2 separate regions of the Homo sapiens genome follow, and region 2 is linked to region 1. The links are contacts of gene promoters, found by promoter capture Hi-C in blood cells and fetal thymus (Javierre and others, 2016). All regions are on one chromosome and are shown on one strand. Each heading gives the region's core, a stretch centred on a gene start or on the middle of the fragment in contact. The rest is flanking DNA. Distances are from core to core; before and after follow the strand shown. Region 1 holds the start of TM6SF2 (transmembrane 6 superfamily member 2). Region 2 has its middle 4.4 kb from the start of TMEM161A.

Region 1 (2,700 bases), core at 98-2,597:
GTGCTCAGTTCTGTAGACTTCATTGTCTGACGCTCCCAGCTCCTCCCAGCTAAAGTCCAAATGCCTCTATTAACTCCACCCTACCCCTGCCCTGATCTGCACCCACAACCTGATAAGACAGGTCAACCAGTTGCATAGATAACAGAAGCCAGGTCTCTGGGCAGCCCTCAACCCAGGTGGGCAAATCCAGGCCCAGAGAGGATGGGAGTACTGTCCAGTTGTCCAGGGTCACACTCAAGACTCTGTCCATCACTCTCCAGGCCCCTATTTTCTCATGATCCCCTCAGAACCCAAGATTTCCATCCTGACCCCATCTAACAATGACATTATAGTACTCAGATGAGACCAAGACAAATCTTTGTACACAGTTTATAATCCTTAACCGTAACTATGAGATGAGATCTAGGATCGTGCCCATTACACTGATGAGGGAACTGAGGCTCCCAGAGGAACTTGGCTCACCCAGGATCCCAGGAGATGGAGATGGGTATTCCCACCCAGGGAGCCAGGCTCATGGTTAAGACTCTCTCCACCCCATGGCTTGGGTTGAGCTGGGTTTAGAAGTACGAGGGGCTTGCAGATGCCCACTATCCGGTGGCTGGACCCACAGGGCTAGGATCTAGGGTTAGGAGACAGGGACCAGGAAAGGGAACCAGTAGGGGGAACTGAGTCTAGGGACATGGTTAGCCAGCCCTGAACAAGAGGAAAGTCACAGGCCTGAGACAGGCAATGGAGTAGGGTGTGTGTGTGTGTGTGTGTGTGTGTGTGTGTGTGTGAGCAGGAGTCAGGTACCCGGGGCCTTATCTGGGACAATACTTTTACCCTTGGTGACTTTGGAACCTAGGCAGGGCGCATCCCTGGGAAAACCCCAGAAACCCTCCAAAGCTCTGGCTTGTGGGGACTCATCATTCCTTCTTCCCAGGCCACAAACATCCCAGGAGCGGCCGCATCCCAGCCTCCAGCCCGGCGGGAAGGGGACTTCCGGTTAGAGGGGGGTGTTCTTCTGGCCCACCCCAATCCTGCCGGGTCGGAGCTGAGCTGGGGCGCAGGGCTCGCAGAAGCCAGGTCCGCGGACCGCGCATCCTCCCTCCAGCCCACCTCCAGTCCTCCCCGCCCCCGCCCGCCCCCACTGTCCCCAAGGCCGCCCTGGCCCCTCTCCGCACGCACTGCGAGAGCGCCGAGACGTGGTTGAGCGCGTAGGACACCGGGAGGGCGCTCAGCGACAGCGCCGCGATCTTGCCGGCCAGCGGCGGGATGTCCATAGCGGCGGCTGCTGGACCCCGGCTCAGCCCCGACGCGTTCTCCAGGGCGCTCGGCTCCTCGTTGGCGGCGAGTCCGGGCCGAGGCTGCCAGGGACCCGCCCCGCACAAAGGTCGACCCCGCTGCGCCCTGGGCAGGCCGCCGTGACCGCCCTGCGTGTTCCCAGGGAGCCTCCAAGGCCCCTCCCCGGCCCTCCCCCTGGCAGCTGCCCCGCCCCTTCGCCCCTCACCATCGACACCCTCGTCTCCAATGGCCGTCCCGCTACTCAGCCTCAGTTTCCCTCACTGTCAAAGGCTGGGACACAACACCTCGGGATGCTTCTGCTCTTAGGCCAAGGGGTGCGCCCTGGAGGTCCTGGCGTGCCCCCTCTTTCCCCTGCCTCCACAACTTCGTTCTAAGGAAATTTTCTCCTGGACTCTGCGCTTCTAAACCTCTGCATTCCCCAGAGTTTCCCATCCCCACCCAAAGATCAAGTCGGCATTCCCTGTGCGCACGGATGGAGCAACCTCCAGCTCTTGGGTGCAAAATGCCTTTCAGTGGGCTTAGATTTGAGTTTTCATAAGGTGGCCACAAATGTAAACGTGTTTCCAGGCAGGTGTGAAGTTTTTTTGTTTGTTTTTTGAGAGGTCTCACTCTGTGGCCCAGACTGGAGTGCAGTGGCCCTCCTCCTTGAACTCCCAGCCTCAAGAGATCCTCCTACCTCAGCCTCCCAAGTAGTTGGGACTACAGGTATGCACCACCACGCGCAGCTAGTTATTTTTTGTAAAGACAGAGGTCTCACTTTTTTGCCCAGACTGGTTTCAAACTCCTGGGCTCAACAGATCCTCCCACATCAGCCTCCCGAGGAGCTGGGATTACAGGCGTGAGCCACTGCGAGGGGTCTTTAAGTGTGAGGCTTTGACTCCGGGGCTGTCCCTTTGCAGGCTAGTCCCGGGTTTAGGGTTCTTCATTTCGGGGAGAGGGTAGAAGGGGTCCTAGCGGGTGGGGGCTGAAGTTAGAATATCGGGATGGAGCCAGTTTGGTGAAGAGTTTGGGAACGGTGTTCCTGGCAGGGAGGAAAGTGGCTCAGGCTTGGAACTGAGCAGTGGAAAGGAGGTCGGTTCTGCTGGGGTGTGATGAGAAGCGAGACAGCTGTGAGAGGCTGTGGGAGGTTTTGAACAGCTGGGAGGGGGCCACAGTATTGGGGGGGAGAATAAGGAGACCATCTGTCTTTGTCACCCCCTCCAACCAGACTCTGGCCCATGTGGAGTACTTGTGGATGCTGCAGACAGCAAGGTGAACCATGCCCACCTGACGCCTGCCCTGCGGGACCCCAGTCTGCAGCTGGCACAAATTCTAACCACTGCCCCTACCTCAGGCCCCATTCTGCACGCAGCCCCTTAGCTTGATGCCAACTGGGTCACAGGTCTTCCTGAACTGGGCCACAAGAGGGTCTTCTGG
Region 2 (2,700 bases), core at 17-2,516, 130 kb before region 1:
AAAACAAAAAAAAAAACCCAATAATAATAAAAACAAAATTAGGCCAGGAGCGGTGGCTCACACCTGTAATCCCAGCACTTTGGGAGACCGAGGTGGGTGGATTACCTGAGGTCAGGAGTTTGAGACCAGCCTTGCCAACATAGTGAAACCCCGTCTCCACTAAAGATACAAAAAATTAGCTGAGCATGGTGGCACATGCCTGTAGTCCCAGCTACTCAGGAGGCTGAGGCAGGAGAATCGCTTGAACCTGGGAGGCAGAGGCTGCAGTGAGCCGAGATCGTGCCATTGCACTCCAGCCTGCATGACAGAGCGAGACTCTCTCTCAAAACAAAAAACAAAAACAAAACAAAATAATAAAAATAAGTAAGTAGAAAAGAAAAAGAAAAAAGACCTGAGTCTGGGTTGGGTGAGCGAAATCTCTAGCCGCACTTGGACACTCTGCAGAGGCTTCAAGTTCACCCCATCCAAGTCTCATTCCCTACAAGCTTCCACAGCACAGAGGATGAAATGGGAGCTTCCAGTCACCCACGGCACGCTCTTCCCTTCACCTCCACCTCCGAGCCGTTCTGGAGTCCTGGTGGGTTTGCCTCCACGCACACACAGAGAGTGATCATTCCAGGGGGCACTGCCTCCCCTCAGCTCCCAATGCCCCCTGCCACGGGAGCCTGGGGAGGGGCTTTTACACACTTTGATCATGCCATATCCCTATCCTGGAAACTGGGGCCCCAAAGCCCCCACCTCACTGGGGATGAGGGTGGCGAAGATGACGTAGGACAAACCTTAGCTGGGGTCTGGGGTGCAGATGGCATCCTATACTCCGCCGTATAAACAAGTGCCCCCTCCGGGTTCTGTCACTTATATACTTTGTCCAGTCTCCCTATCCCTTAAAAGGCGTCCCGCCCATCATCTTGTCTAGGACTGTGTGCGCTAAGGGTGAAATGCAAGGTGCTCAGTTTTACTGAAGAAATCTCTCCCTGGGGCGCTGAGTGACAGAAAGGATTTTGAAATTGTCAGTCAACGTACCCCGCCCATTCTGGCTGAGCTGTGCCAACCAGCTCAGCTTTGGATCTTGGCAGAGTGATTGGAAAGCAGGTGAGTTTGTTTGTTTGTTTGGTTTTTGAGATAGAGTCTTGCTCTGTTGCCCAGGCTGGAGTGCAGTGGCGCGATTTCGGCTCACTGCAACCTCCACTTCCCGGGTTCAAGTGATTCTCCTGCCTCAGCCTCCTGAGTATCTGGGACTACAGGCACACACTACCATGCCCGGCTAATTTTCGTATTTTTAATAGAGACGAGGTTTCACCACATTGGTCAGGCTGGTCTCGAACTCCTGACCTCAAGTGATCCACCTGCCTCAGCCTCCCAAAGTGCTGGGATTACAGGTGTGAGCCACCATGCCCGGCCTGTTTTTGTTTTTGTTTTTTTACTCTTTGAGACGGGGTCTTTTGCTCTGTTGCCCAGGCTGGAGTGCAGTGGCTCAATCATGGCTCACTGCAGCCTTGACTTCCCGGGCTCAGGTGATTCTCCCACCTCAGCCTCCTGAGAAGCTGGGACTAGAGGTGTGCACTGCCACGCCTGGCTAATTTTTTTTTTTTTTTAAGAGATGGGATTCACCATGTTGCCCAAGCTAGTCTTGAACTCCTGGGCTTAGGCCATCCTCCCACCTCAGCCTCTCAAAGTATTTGGATTACAGGGGTGAGCCACTGTCCCCGGCCAAGGCGGATCTTGTAAGTCTTGATCTCAACACTCATGTTTTCCGTCTTCCTGTCCAAATCTGTGAACTCCAACTCACAAAGGTGTTTCTCAGCTTGGGACAGTGTAGAAGGCGTCATGGAGGAAGAGAGGCAGAGCTGGGCCTTGGAGGGTGGGAAGGAGTTTAAAAAGGAGACAAGTTGGGGGTTGAGGGAGGCGCTCCAGGAAAGACCAGTAGGGTCACATGTTGGTACTGCAAATATTTCTAAGGTACTGGAGAGGCTGGGACAGGGATAGGAGACCAGGCCAGACTAGGGTAGGGCAGCTGAGGAGCCCAACTTCCTTCTAAGGATGAGGAAAAGCTTCAAAGAGATGAGCAGAACATGGCAGAGGCAGATCTTTTAAATTTTATTACTGTTATTTTTAGAGACAATGTCTTGTTCTGTCACTCAGGCTGGATTGTAGTGGGCTGGTAATAGCCCACTGCAGCCTCCAACTCCTGGGCTCAAGGCATCCTTCCTCCTCAGCCTCCCAAAGGACTGGGATTACAGGCAAGAAGTAATTTTTTTTTTTTTTTTTTTTTTGAGACGGAGTCTTGCTCTGTTGTGCAGGCTGGAATGCAGTGGCACGATCTGGATCTCGGCTAACTGCAACCACCACCTCTTGAGTTCAAGTGATTCTCGTGCCTCGGCCTCCCAAGTAGCTGGGATTACAGGCATGGGCCATGAGGCCCAGCTAATTTTTGTATTTTTAGTAGAGATGGTCTCAAATTTCTGGCCTCAAGTGATCTGCCCGCCTTGGCCCCCCAAAGTGCTAGGATTACAGGTGTGAGCCACCGTGCCCGGCTAGAAGTCAGTTTTTTATGTTGTCGTTGTTTTTGATGTTATTTTTGAGATAGGGTCTCGCTCTGTTGCCCACGGTGGAGTGCAATGGCTCAATCACAGCTTGCTGCAGCCTCGACTTCCTATGCTCAGGCAATTCTCCCACCTCAGCCTCCTGAATAGCTGGGAC

The links. The method cuts DNA at HindIII sites, captures the fragments that hold promoters and counts their contacts. A CHiCAGO score of 5 or more calls a contact.
Region 2: a contact is called between a fragment that was not itself captured here and the fragment with the promoter of TM6SF2 in region 1, in 1 of 17 cell types (M1 macrophages). The highest score is 6.1, in M1 macrophages.

What each region holds. Positions count from the first base shown.
Region 1 is chr19:19,271,954-19,274,653 of GRCh38, forward strand. TM6SF2 (transmembrane 6 superfamily member 2) reads right to left here and starts at 1,348. Exons shown (of 10, transcript NM_001001524.3): 1 at 1,168-1,348. The coding sequence starts at 1,262. The HindIII fragment of the contact is 7,826 bases long and covers 1-2,700 here.
Region 2 is chr19:19,141,558-19,144,257 of GRCh38, forward strand. No RefSeq gene overlaps it. Among named protein-coding and RNA genes, the nearest start is that of TMEM161A, 4.4 kb to the left of the region's middle. The HindIII fragment of the contact is 1,566 bases long and covers 484-2,049 here.